Linked DNA regions of Homo sapiens: all the other regions are linked to region 3. Evidence: promoter capture Hi-C in human tissues and cell types (Jung and others, 2019). All regions are on one chromosome and are shown on one strand. Each heading gives the region's core, a stretch centred on a gene start or on the middle of the fragment in contact. The rest is flanking DNA. Distances are from core to core; before and after follow the strand shown.

The links. Contacts are between HindIII fragments. The study calls those that stand out against the background at their distance.
Region 1: a contact is called between a fragment that was not itself captured here and the fragment with the promoter of KIF2B in region 3, in 2 of the 25 tissues and cell types used here (dorsolateral prefrontal cortex and heart right ventricle).
Region 2: a fragment that was not itself captured here is called in contact with the fragment with the promoter of KIF2B in region 3 in 1 of the 25 tissues and cell types used here (spleen).

Annotation. Positions count from the first base shown.
Region 1 is chr17:53,763,646-53,768,571 of GRCh38, forward strand. No RefSeq gene overlaps it. Among named protein-coding and RNA genes, the nearest start is that of KIF2B, 57 kb to the right of the region's middle. The HindIII fragment of the contact is 5,389 bases long and covers 944-4,926 here.
Region 2 is chr17:53,882,294-53,887,333 of GRCh38, forward strand. No RefSeq gene overlaps it. Among named protein-coding and RNA genes, the nearest start is that of KIF2B, 62 kb to the left of the region's middle. The HindIII fragment of the contact is 3,087 bases long and covers 820-3,906 here.
Region 3 is chr17:53,819,691-53,824,193 of GRCh38, forward strand. It overlaps KIF2B (kinesin family member 2B), which reads left to right and starts at 3,237. Exons shown (of 1, transcript NM_032559.5): 1 at 3,237-4,503. The coding sequence starts at 3,344. LOC124904030 (a long non-coding RNA gene) reads right to left here and starts at 3,236. Exons shown (of 2, transcript XR_007065851.1): 1 at 3,034-3,236. The HindIII fragment of the contact is 8,156 bases long and covers 120-4,503 here.

The DNA of each region.
Region 1 (4,926 bases), core at 2,388-4,887, 56 kb before region 3:
AAAATACAGTACTGTTGACTATAAGCAAAGTGTTGTACAACAGGTCTCTAGAACTTATTCATTTTGCGTAACTGAAACTTTATACCCTTTGATTAGTAATTTTTCATTTCCTCCTTCCCACTGGCCCTAGCAACCAACACTCTAATCTCTGCTTCTATGAATTCAACTATTTTAGATACCTCATAAGAGTGGAATTTTATGTATTTGTCTGTATGTGCTTGGCTTATTTCACTTAGCATCATTTCCTCAAAGTTTTTCCAGTTCATCATATATTGCAGGATTTCCTTCTTTAAAAGGCTGAATAATATTTCACTGTTCATATGGTCCAAGTTTGCTTTATTAACTAATAAATTTATGAATTTATCATTTCTAGAGCATTCCTCATTAGAGACACCCTCTTCCATTACACTACCTTTCACAGAGCCCCTGAAAGAAGAATTATATGGGGGTGTGTGAGTGTGTGCGCATGTGTGTGTATATGTATATATGTGTGTATGTGTGTGTATATATATACATGGATACATATATATGACCATTGATGGAAAACCTTTATATATATATGTTTTTCAAAATATATAAGGAACTTCTACAATTCAGTAGCAAAAAAGCCCTAATATTTCAATAAAAAAATGGCTGAGGACTTGCATAGACATTTCTCCAAATATGACACATAATTGGGAAGCAGATATATGAAAAAATGGTTGACTTCACTATTCATCAGGGAACTGAAAATCAAAACGCATTATCACTTTATATTTGTTAGGATAGCTATTATAAAAAAAGATAAGTATAGGTGACAATGTGAAGAAATCATAACTCTTGTACACTGCTGGTAGAAATGCAAAATGATGACTCTGCTATGGAAAGCAATATAAGGATTCCTCAAAAAATTAAAAATAAAACTATCATATAACCCACGATCCCACCTTTGGGCATTTATCCAAAAAAAATGAAATCACATTAACCTTGTTTTCACCACTCATTCTTACCATAGTCCCTCCTGCAATGGGACCTGTGCACATTATATGTTCCTACCGGTAATGAGATTTTTCTCTCATATTAACGAAGTAAATTCCTCTTATTCTTTTGGTCTCAGCGCCACCATTACTTCTTTTGGAGGCTCTGTGAAATGTAGTGTGCCAAGAGAGGTCTCTGTAACCAGAAACACTGTGGAAATGATAAAGTAATTCATGGATTTATTAGTTAATAAAGCAAATGTGGACCAGCTGCATAACTTCTCAAAGCATCCGCTTCCTTGTCTATAAGACTAGAATAATACCTACTTTATAGGATTGCTTTGAAAGTTATAAATGGTCATTGCCTAGCAGAGTTCTAGCATATGTCATGGCTCAATAAATGCAGCACACATTATTTTTTTTAATGATGACACTACTCTTGACAACATAATTCAGAACAAAACTGCTGTTAAAATTGTGTTCTATTGTGTTTGTGGGGATAGAACCTACACTACTCTAACAAGAACCTGCCAAATAAATTGCTTCATCAAGATGAAAGTCAATTTCATTCTTAAATCTAACCAGCTTGGAAGGCATCGCAGGGTGGTTAGGACAATTTATAGTGTTGAAGATCCAGAATGCTTGCTCAGTAATCTTTGGGGTGTTACCCTTGTCTGCACAAAGATGACCACACCCACAGGAACACCTCCCGCTTATGGTCATAAATCAAAAAGTTGCACATACTGCTTTCACTAACATTTCCCTGGCCCAAACTTAAACTCAGTCATTTGGTCATGACTACCAGCAAGGAAGAGTGGGGCATGTCTTTACCTGGGCAGTCATGAGCCAACAGAATAATTCTATTACTATAGGGAAAAACTGGAGAAGAAATATTGAGAAAACAGATAGTAGTTTCCTTCACAGCTTCTGAATTTAAAGGCTTTAAGGTAAAATAATGTCTTACCAAAATGTAAAAAAAAAAAAAAAAAAAAAAAAAAAAAATTAGGGTTGAGTTTAAGAAGCAAGACAGCAAGACAGAGGCTAACAAAACATTATTTTTTTAAGTTAAGTCCTCATATACCATAATTTTGCCAGGAAAATGAAAGACAATAGAAACAGAATCACATTAAGCTTATGAATGAAAGGACTCCAAGGTTCAGGATACTAGTCTTATTCCCACTGGGGCACCTGAGAGAAATTTAAGCTGTAGGCTATAAGAGATGAGTCACAGTAGATGGCGTAATAAGCAATATTGAGAAAAAAAATGCAAGCAAAAGAAATAGAGACTTTTTTAGGAGGAAGATTGTAATTTTAAATAGAGTGGTCTTGAAAGGTCTCACTGAGAAGAGGACATGTGAGTAAATACCTAAAGAAAGTTAAGGAGCATGAACCATGGATATACAAGAGAAGACTATTTCAGGATAAAAGCAGCAAGTGCAGATGCCTTGGTCTAGGAGTGTGCCTGACCTTGTTGAGAAACTGCAAGGAGACCTGTGTGGCCAGAGAAGTGAGTGAGGAAAGAATACAACGAGATGACCCCAAATGCCATCAGAGAATAGAAGGATCAGGGGTGGGGGAGAGCCAGAGTGTAAATGACCTCCTAGGCCATCCTTGGGACTTTGGCATTTACTCTTTGAGATATGGGCACCCTTAGAAGCTTTTGAGCAAAAGAGTGACATGACTGAATTTTTATTTTAACAGAGTAATAATACCACTATTAATAGAGCCTCAATTTATTGAACGTTCTATTCTTGGCACTATAACAAGTTCTTTATTTACATCACCTCACTTCATTCTCACAGCACTGCAAAATCATAATTTATACCCCCATTTTACCAGATAAAGAAACTGAGTCTTGCAATGGTTGAATAAATTAATCAGATTAATAAATGACATTCTTGGGATTTTTGATCTTAAGTATATCTGCCTGCAATGTCCTTACTGTTATTTATACTGTTTTATTTCTATCGGTATTGTGATAGCTCACTTGAAAGGTTTATATGTTATTGTCTCACCATAAAATTGTTTCTCATTATATTCTGTCCACTAATATCCTAAATAGATGTGATAAAGAGGTATTCTGCTGTGTCATTATGAAGAGTAGTGTTACTTATGATAGCAATTATTGCTCATTAGCATTTGATAAAAACGAGCTCTGTGCCACTGCACTCCTAATCTAAATGGAGCATCATAAATAATAAACCCTCACAATTAGAGTAGAGCTTCTGAACTCATCTCCTTTTTAATCTCAATAACGAGGCATTTAAATTTATAATTAATTTCCATAGTTTTATGAGCTTTTCTCAACTCTCTTCTCTCCCTCCCCTCCAAATCTTACTCTTTTTTTTTTTTTGAAGCTTCCCTCCACAGAAGTTGACTTTTCTGATTTTCATCTGTCCCCGCTTGTATGGCCCCCACACAAGTCAGGCACAGCAGTCAGTGTACATGGGAGTGCCAGTCACCAGTGAATATTCAGAGTGATCCTATTCTCTTTACCATCACCACCACTCTCCTAGCTGAAGATCCACCATTAACTTCTGTGGGGCTCAAAACAAGAGTACCAATGGAGGCCCACATACCTTACATCTATCAGATTGGTGCAAAAGAAATTGCAGTTTTAGACCATGAACTAAGCTCAAACACATCTTTATGAATCAAAATAAGAACAATTAAAATCAACACACTTTTGCCAATGAGTAATGAATTTGTTTATTTCCATAGTGTGAAAATCTGTGCTTTGGGATTCAAGCAACTCTTGGAAAGCATTTTCTACATCCTGATGGTCGTGGAAGTGTTTTCCCTGCAAAACGTTGTCGAGATGCTTGAAGAAGTGGTAGTTAGTTGGCGAGAGGTCAGGTGAACATAGCAGATGAGGCAAAACTCCATCGCCCAATTCATTCAACTTTTGAAGCGTTAGTTGTGTGACGTGCAGTCGGGCGTTGTGGAGAAGAATTGGGCCATTTCTGTAGACCAATGCCATCTGCAAGCATTGCAGTTTTTGGTGCATCTCATGGATTTGCTGAGCATATTTCTCAGATGTAATGGTTTTGCCAGGATTCAGAGAGCTGTAGTGGATCAGACCAGCAGCAGACCACCAAAGAATGACCATGACCTTTTTGGTGCAAGTTTGGCTTTGGGAAGTGTTTTGGAGCTTCTTCCCAGCTCAACCACTGAGCTGGTCATTGCTGGTTGTCATAAAAAATCCACTTTTCATTTCATATCACAATCCAATCAAGAAATGGTTCATTGTTGCATAGAATAAGAAAATACAATACTTCAAAATGGCAATTTTTAAAAATTTTCACTCAGCTCAAAAGGCACCCATTTATTAAGCTTTTTCACCTCTCCAATTTGTTTCAAATGCCAAATGACCATAGAATGGTTGATGTTGAGTTCTTTGGCAACTTCTCATGTAGTTGTAAGAGGGTCAGCTTATATGATTGCTCTCAATTGTTTGTTGTCAACTTCCGATGGCTGGCCACTATGCTGCTCATCTTCAAGGCTCTTGTCTCCTTTACAAAACTTTTTGAACCACCACTGCACTGTACGTTCATTAGCAGTTCCTGGGCCAAATGCATTGTTGATGTTGCAAAGTTGTCTCTGCTGCTTTACGACCCATTTTGAACTCGAAAAAGAAAATTGCGGCTGGGCATGGTGGCTCACGCCTGTAATCCCAGCACTTTGGGAGGCCGAGGCGGGTGGATCACGAGGTCAGGAGATCAAGACCATCCTGGCCAACATGGTGAAACCCCGTCTCTATTAAAAATACAAAAATTAGCTGGTCGTGGTGGCACACACCTGTAATCCCAGCTACTCGGGAGGCTGAGGCAGAAGAATTTCTACAACCAGGGAATCAGGGATTGCAGTGAGCCAAGATTGAGTCACTGCACTCCAGCTTGGCAACAGAGCTAGACTCCATCTCAAAAAAAAAAAAAAAAATTGCTCGAATTTGCTTTTTGTCCAACATCAT
Region 2 (5,040 bases), core at 1,113-3,612, 62 kb after region 3:
ACTTTAGGCTGGAGGATGGCAGCAGAGAGAAGATTTTAAAAACTACCTATCAGGTACTATTGCTTATTACCTGGATGGTGAAATAATCTGTACACCAATCCCCTATGACACACAGTTTACCTATATAACAAACATGCACATGTATGCCTGAACCTAAAAGTTAAAATGTATACTGTTAGAGAAATTCGGCAAATGTTGTTAGAAGTATTGAAAGTAAAAAAGTCGGAAAGTCAAAAGTGCACAGAAATGCAATAAAAACCGTAATTCTAACATAAAGAGAGTTCTGATAATAACAGTTTATATGACATAGTTTACATGTATTGATTTTTTGGCTCATGGTTAAAGGTACAAGTTTCAGGCGAATCACTCATCATAAAGTGTTTGATTGCTTCAAGATTTTCAGTAATTTTACAAGGGTGGTGACTTTGATGCTCTTCCTTAGGCATATATGACAATGTCTGGAGACATTTCAGTTTGGAATCAAATACATAGGAACTAGAGATTCTGCTAAACATCCTACAATGCTCAGAACAACCCCCCACCCAAATTAAGAATTATCCAGCTCAAAATATTAATAGCGTAAGGTCATAAAACCCTGTGCTGGACTTATCTGATCTCAACATGGATGAATATTTTGACAAAGTGATCCATGTTTTTGTGTGAATTTAAAGGTGTAGATTAAATACTTACTCAAGGACTACAGACTCTGGCATCAGGCCATCCTACCCGTGGGCCCAGGCCCAAAGCCCACATGTTAAAGATCCCTACTAGCTAGTCCATCGAAAATATCTGGCCAGGATGACAGGTGAAGGGCTTTCCATGTCAAAGTCAGTCTGTAAAGACTAGAAGAGTTGAGTATTTCTTCAAATGCAGAGGCATGAATGCAAGTTTACAATAATCACGAAGAACCAGGGAAACATGACACCAGCAAAGGAAAAAAATAAAGCTCAAATAAACCATTCTAAGGAAATGGAGATGTAACCATTGCCCAGTATTGTGTCTCAAGAAACAAGAAATAAAGGACAGCCTTAACTTAGGGGATGGAAGGAAATAATAAATATTAGAGAAGGAATAAACAAAATAGAGATTTTGTTAAATATTAAAAAATAAATTTTAGGGTTTGTTTTGTGAAAAGATAATTAAAATTTAAAAACTCTTATCTACACTAACTTAAAAAAGAAGAGAGAAGATAAAATCAGAAATGGAGAAGGCAATGTTACAATCAATGCCACAATTTTTTAAGAAAGAGATTATAAGGGACTATTATGAACAATCATGCACCAACAGGGCAACCTAGAAGAAATGAATACATTCTTAGAAACATACACTCTGCCAAGACTGAGTCAAGTAGAAATCAAAAGCCTGAACATATTAATAACAAATTAGATTGACTCAGTAATCAAAAAAGAAAAACACGTGAATTAATGACTTCATAGATAAATTGTCCCAAGCATTTAAAAACATATTACAAATCCTTCTTAAACTCTTCAGAAAAAATAGAAGAGGGAACAGTTCTGAAATCTTTTTATAAGGCCAGCATCACCTTGACACTAACAGACAGAAACCACAAGAAAAAACAACTAAAGGTCAATATCCCTGATGAATCTGATTGCAAAAATTTTCATCAAAATATTAGTAAACAAAGTTCAACAGCATACTAAAAGGATCATACGCCATGACCAAGTGGGATTTACCCCAGTAAGCAGGGATAGTTCGACATATACAAATCAAATATTATCATACACTCCAGAAACAGAATGAAGAATAAAAAATCACAAGATCTTTTTTGTAGATGAAGAAAAGTCATTTGACAAATTTCAACACCCTTTCATAATAAAAACTCTAAACAAGTTAGGTATAGAAATAACTTAGCACAATCAAAGCCAAAGAGGCATACCTGTAAGAAATTTCAGGTGCAGTTCCAGCCCACTGCAATAAAGGAAACATCACAATAAAGTGAGTCACGCCGGTTTTGTCTATTTTTCAGTTCATGTAAAAGTTATGTTTACACAATATTATAGCCTATTACATGTGCAATAGCATTATGTCTAAAAAAGTGCATAGCTTAATTAAAAAATACTTTCTTGCCAACAAATGCTAATGATCATCTGAGCCTTCAGTGAGCTGCAATCTTTTTCCTGGTAGAGGATTTTGCCTTCTTGTTGATGGCTAATGACTGGTCAGGGTTGTGATAGCTGAAGGTAGAGATGGATGCAGAAATTTCTTAAAATGAGACGACAATAAAGTTTGCCCCATAAATTGGCCCTTCCTTTCACTAAAGATTTCTCTGTAATATGCAATGTGTTTGAAAGCATTTTACCCAGAATAGAGGTTCTTTCAAAATTGAAGTCAGTCCTCTTAAGCCTTGTCCTTGCTTCATCAATTAAGTTTACATAATATTCTAAATGTTTTCTTGTCATCTCAGCATTGTTCATAATATCTTGACCAGGAGTATATTCCATCTCAAGAAACAACTTTCTTTGCTTATTCATAAGAGGCAATTTCTCATCTGTTTAACTTTTATTATGAGATTGTCACATTCATTCACATTTTCAGGCTCCACTTCTAATTCTTATTTCTCTTGCAATTTCCACCATATCTGCAGTTATTTCCTTTACTGAAGTCTTGAACCTATTAAAATTGTCTATGAGGATTAGAATTAACTTCTTCCAGAGTCCCTTAGATGTTGATATTTTGGCTTACTTTCAAAAAGCATGAAGATTCTTAATGGTATCTAGAATGTAGAATCATTTCTAGAAGCTTTTCAATTTAGTTTGCTCAGATACATCAGATACATCACTATCTATAGCAGCTATAGAATTATAAAATGTATTTCTCAAGTAATAAGACTTGAAGGTGAAAATTACTCCTTGATCTATGAGCTGAAGAATGGAGGTTGTGATAGCAGGCATGAAAAGAACATTAATTTCTTTGTACATATCTATCATAGCTCTTGGGTGACCAGTTGTATTGACAATGAGCAGCAATATTTTGAAAAGAATCTTTTTTCTGAGCTGTAGGTCTCAACTGTAGGCTTAAAATATTCAGTAAACCACACAGTAAACAGGCTTTGTTTTTCCATTTATGTAGCCTAGGAAGAGTAGATTTTTCACAATTCTTAAGAGCTCTAGGATTTTTAGAATGTTAAATGATCATTGGCTTCAACTTAAAGTCACCAGCTGTATTAGCCTTTAACAAGGTAGTCTTTGTTCTTTGAAGTTTTCAAATCAAGACATGACTTCTTTTTAGTTATGAAAATCCTAGATAGCATTTTCTTCCAATATGAGGCCGTTTCATCTACATTCAAAATAGTTGTTTGGTATAGCAACCTTCATCAATAATCTTGGCTAGATCATCTGGATAACTTGCTGTAGTTTCTCCATCAGCACTTACTGCTTTTCTTTTTACTTTCATGTTATCATGATGGCTCCTTTCCCTTAAACCCCATGAACCAACTTCTGCTATCTTCATTTTTTTTTCCTGCAGATTCCTTACCTCTCTTCACCTTCATATAAGTGAAGAGAGTTAGAGCCTTACTCTTGAATAGTCTTTGGCTTAAGGGAAGGTTGTGGCTGGTTTAGTCTTCTATCCTGACTACTCAAGCTTTAGCCATATCAGCAATAAACCCTGTGTTAGGCCATTCTTATGTTGGTATAAAAATATCTGACACTGGGTAATTTATAAAGAAAAGATGTTTAATTTGCTCATGGTTCTTTTGGCTTTACAGGAAACATGATGCTGGCATCTTCTTGGCTTCTGGGGAGACCTCAAGAAACTTACAATCATGACAGGAGTTGAAGTGGGAGCAGGCATGTCACATGACCAGAACAGGAGAAAAAGAGAGAGTCAGAAGAGGGGGGAGGTGCAAAATACTTTTAAATAACCCAAACTCATAAGAACTCACTCACTCATCACCTAGGGGAGAGCACCAAGCCACTCATGAGGAATACACCCCTCTGATGCAAATACCTCCTGCCAGGTCCTAACCCACAACACTGGGGACCACACCTCCATATGAGATTTGGTGGAAACACAGATCCAAATCATATTAAATCTATTTCACTTTCTTATCATTTGTGTGTTTACTGGAGTAGCACTTCTAATTTCCTTCAAGAACTTTTCCCTTACATTCACAAATTGGCTAATCATTTGGTGTAAGAGGCCTAGATTTCATCATATCTTGGCTTTTGATATGGCTTTCTCACTAAGCTTACTCATTTCTAGCTTTTGATTCAAAGTGAGGGACATGTGACTCTTCCTTTCACTTGAGCGCTTAGAGGCCATTGTGGGATTATTTGACCTAATTTGAACATTGCTTTGTCTCAGGGAATAATAGTGAGACCTAAAGAGAGGGAGAGAGATGGAAATTGCTGGTCAGAGGAGCAGTCATAACACTCATAACATTTATGGATTAAGTTCACTGTTTTATATGGGCCTGGTTCATGGCATCCCAAAGTAATTACAATAGTAATATCAAAAATCATTAATCATAGACCTCCGTAACAGATATAATAATATTAGAAAAGTCAAAAATATTGTGATAATTATCAAAATATGACACAGAGACTCGAAGTGAGCACATCACATTAGAAAATGGTACTAATGAATTTGCTCAATACAGCATTGACACAAACCTTCAATTTGTAAAAAAAAACACAATATCTTTGAATAAAATGAAGTAGCATAAAATGAAGTATTCTTGCATATAAAAAGCCCACAGCTAACATTACCTCAGTGGTGAAAAACTAAAAGCTTTTCTTCTAAGACCTAGAATGAAGAAAAAATGTCCACTCTCACCATTTCTATTCAACCTAGTATTGGAAATCCTATACAGAGCAATTAGGCAAGAAAATTTTAAAAATGCAATCAAATCAGAAAAGAAAATATGAATTACCTTTCTTTGTAGATGATGTGATTTTTATATAGAAAATCCTAAATACTACACACAGACACACACACACACACACACACACACACACACACACACACACAAAACCTCTTAGAACTAATGAACTCAGCAAAGTTGGAAAATAAAAATCA
Region 3 (4,503 bases), core at 1,987-4,486:
TTCTGAATTGTGAATTTTATATCAGCAAATATAAAAAGGGATTGCTCCAAAGAAGTTCCAGACTATTGGAATTGTAAAAGCACCCAATCAGCTCTCTATAAACAGGTTACTGTTATTTTTCACCAATGAGAATTTTTTTTAATGTACTACTAAAAATTAGGCTTTGGGTTCCCTTGACTAGCCAAATTCGACCAGTAATAGACACCATTTCTTCAGAAGGGGTGTCTTTATCTAATGCTATTTTGCCTGGCTATTGTCAAGAAGGTCAGAGAAACCTGTCCAGGGTAGTGATGTTTGAGGTAGGTATTGAAGAGCTCAGGAAAACCATGAAGACAAGGAAGGATTATTGTCAGAGGGCTGTACTAGTAATTCTCAAAATGTTGTCCCTGCACCCAGCAGCACCAACATTGCCTGGGAACTTGTTAAACATGAGAATTTTCAGCCCCACTTCAGACTTACTGAATCAACAACTCTGGCATGGAGCCTAGTAGCCTGTGTTTTAACAAGCCCTGCAGTTGATTTTCACATATCTTAATATTGAGAACCACCGGACTAGCAATTTGAAATTTGAAAGAAAATGGTGTGTTTGAAGGGCTGCAATTTCTTCCACATGGCTCAATTTTAGATTAAGTATGGATAGTGGGAAATCTTGAGGATGACAAAGCAGGCAAGATGATGATGTGCCTTAAGTCTTCATATGGAATTTATACCATATCATTAGGATGATGAGGAGCTAACAAATGCTTAAAAGCAGTGAATTAATAAGGAAGAACCTGTTAAAATAACTCTAGGAGCAGTGTGAGAAATAGACTAAGTCCCTGACTGGATGAGGTTGCAAAAAAAAAAAAAAAAAGAAAAAAGAAAACAAGCTCATAATTGGTTGGGAGATTAAATGATATCATGGTTATGGAAGACTTCTAGAGACTGGGAAAGGACTACCTAAGTTAGGATGGGCTGAAAGGGGAAGAACACAAAGATCTGTGTCAGGATTTTAAAGATGAGTAAATGTTGAAGTTACTAAAAGCAATTAAAAATAACAAAGACCTGCCATTTTCAGTAAGAAAATAACAGAATCAGTTTTGGATTTGTTAACTTTTTAGTTCCTGCAGGTGACTACAAGTTTAGGACTCATAATTCTGGTTATCAACAATCTATCTAGCCAGCTTTATATAAAATTAAACTGTAGGAACAAATGCAATATACTAGGGAAACTATATAAAAGAGAAAAGAACTGAAAAAAAGTCCTGAAATTGCTATGAAAACCTGTATGAACATGTTGGAGAGAAAGAGGGAGTAAAAGGAAACTTTTCTCTCTGATTTTGGCACTATTATCATGGATCTGCTCATCCATTGTCTGTCTAAAACATTACTAGCTAAGATGAAAACCCTATGGCTAGCCTGGAGGGTCTAGAGTTTTCATAATTTTGAGAGAGACCCAGCTTTTTCAAAGGTAACGGTTAAAAAAACAAAGCAAAACAAACTATTATGTGGGCTCAGTGGCTCAAGCCTATATTTCTATCACTTTGGGAGGGTGAGAAGGGAGACTCCCTTGAGGTCAGGAGTTTGAGACCAGTCTCTGTGCAACACAGCGAGACCTCATCCCTAGCAAAAAAAAAAAAAAGAAAAAAAAAAAAAAGAAAGAAACAAAGAAAGAAAATAGCAAAGCATCCTGACACATGCCTGTAATTCCAGCTACTCAGGAAGCTGAGATGGTAGGATGGCTTTAACCTAGGAGTATGAGGTGGCAGTGAGCTATGATCAGGCCACTGTACTCCAACTTGAATGACAGAGTGCTAATGACAAATACAGTGTATTAAGAATATCTACATCATGGCCTTGAAACCAAGAAAGAACAACTGATTTAAAGCACAACTTTAAGTATTGATAATTTGGGGAAATAAAACATGATATTTTTTAGAAGACAATTGCCTAAAGCCCTTTCTCCTCTCCCTCCACCTGCATACAACCTCCTCTTGAAATGAGCACTGCTTACTTATCTAATTTATCCAGTATCCTCCTTCCACCTTCTTTTCAAAATCTAAGCTTTACTAGACTGACTGAACAGAAAAGTTAGTTTATAGTAGAATTTATTTCTATAGAGGCCCTTATTCCTAGGGAAGGTTGTAACTTGCTACTTCATGTTACTTTGGAGCTATAATTATGATAAAATTCAACAGTCCAAAAGACAACATGCACGGGTGTTGCTAGTGAGCTGAACGTAAGGCATCACCCTTACTCTGAGCTTGGCCTGTCTAAAAGTCAATGTCATTTATTTTATAAGCTAATTCTTATGCATGAAAATATTGCAATCTTGGCAAAATATATTTTTGCATCCGATGGTCTTAGCTGCCTTCCAGCCTTGCTTAACAACTTCTAAAGGACACACACAAGTACTGCAGGGGTGGGGGGAGTATAAGATTAATTATCTCTTTCCACACAATGCCTTTTCTTTCTCTCCCAATTATGGATAATGAGGCCAGAAGTGTAATTACTGAAGGAGTTTGGAAAGGTAATTACTGAACTAATCTCAAAAATGGTGGTGACCACAGCACAACAAAACTCACTTTATAGCTGTCAGAGCCACTTGGAATGTGATACACATGTTGTGTTTGCAAACCCAGGTGCTGTACGAAAGGTAGTTTCATATTAGCAAATTACCACAACGACCTGCTACATTCTACTCATTTTGATTTTGTAATGAGAAAGCCGATTAAACTGTAATAACTTTAAGTTGTGACTCTTAAACAAGTTACACGTTTTGAAGGAGGTGAAAAAACAAAGATGGCGGGTTTGAGGAGCCTTTCTGGGATCCTGTTGAATATCGAGTCCTGAGATTTGCAAATAGCTCTACCTTCATCTATTCCCACTGATCACTGGAGAGTTAAAGTTTAAGGAAACTTCATAGCAATTCTCAAATTAAAGCACTGAGCTTTGAGACTGCCAGCCAAGGCCTCCTTTTATGCTTAGGCATAAATGTACACGGGACATATAAATTAAATTTCAACGCCATGGTTCCCGTTGCTTCTCTGTTACCTGTTCTTTCTCGCCATGATCCGGAGAGCACGCCACATCCTCCTCCAACCCCTTCACCCTCACTGGCAGAGAACAATCTCTCCATCCCTTTGTGCTCCCGTACCATTCACTCCTAAGCCCTAGGTTCTGCCGCCTCATCTCATCCCTTTGTGACGTAGTGGCCCCAGTCCGGGCCCCGGCGCGCTAGGCTCACAAAGGCAGGCACAGACTGCAACCCTGCTCAGTGCTCCGGGCGCTTCAGGCTGGCTTGGGTCCTGCTGCTCCAACCCCAAGGGCCCTGGAGCGCTCCCTGATACCTCCATCACTCACCATGGCCAGCCAGTTCTGCCTCCCTGAATCCCCATGTCTCTCGCCCCTGAAACCCTTGAAGCCACATTTCGGAGACATCCAAGAGGGCATCTACGTGGCGATCCAGCGCAGTGACAAGCGGATCCACCTCGCTGTGGTCACGGAGATCAACAGAGAAAACTATTGGGTCACGGTAGAGTGGGTGGAGAAAGCAGTCAAAAAAGGCAAGAAGATTGACCTGGAGACCATACTCCTGCTGAATCCAGCTCTGGACTCTGCTGAACACCCCATGCCGCCCCCGCCCTTATCCCCCTTGGCTCTGGCGCCCTCTTCGGCCATCAGGGACCAGCGTACCGCCACGAAATGGGTTGCGATGATCCCCCAGAAAAACCAAACAGCCTCAGGGGACAGCCTGGATGTGAGGGTCCCCAGCAAACCTTGTCTGATGAAGCAGAAAAAGTCTCCCTGCCTCTGGGAAATCCAGAAACTGCAGGAGCAGCGGGAAAAGCGCAGGCGGCTGCAGCAGGAGATCCGAGCTAGACGCGCCCTCGATGTCAATACCAGAAACCCCAACTACGAAATCATGCACATGATCGAAGAGTATCGCAGGCACCTGGACAGCAGCAAGATCTCAGTCCTGGAGCCCCCGCAAGAACATCGCATCTGCGTCTGCGTGAGGAAGCGGCCTCTCAACCAGCGAGAGACAACCTTAAAGGACCTGGATATCATCACCGTCCCCTCGGACAATGTGGTTATGGTGCATGAGTCCAAGCAAAAGGTGGACCTCACTCGCTACCTGCAGAACCAGACCTTCTGCTTCGACCATGCCTTCGATGACAAAGCCTCCAACGAGTTGGTGTACCAGTTCACCGCCCAGCCACTGGTGGAGTCCATCTTCCGCAAGGGCATGGCCACCTGCTTTGCCTATGGGCAGACGGGAAGTGGGAAGACGTACACCATGGGTGGAGACTTTTCAGGAACGGCCCAAGATTGTTCTAAGGGCATTTATGCTCTGGTGGCACAGGATGTCTTTCTCCTGCTCAGAAACTCCACATATGAGAAGCTGGACCTCAAAGTCTATGGGACATTTTTTGAGATTTATGGGGGCAAGGTGTATGATTTGTTGAACTGGAAGAAGAAGCTGCAAGTCCTTGAGGATGGCAATCAGCAAATCCAAGTGGT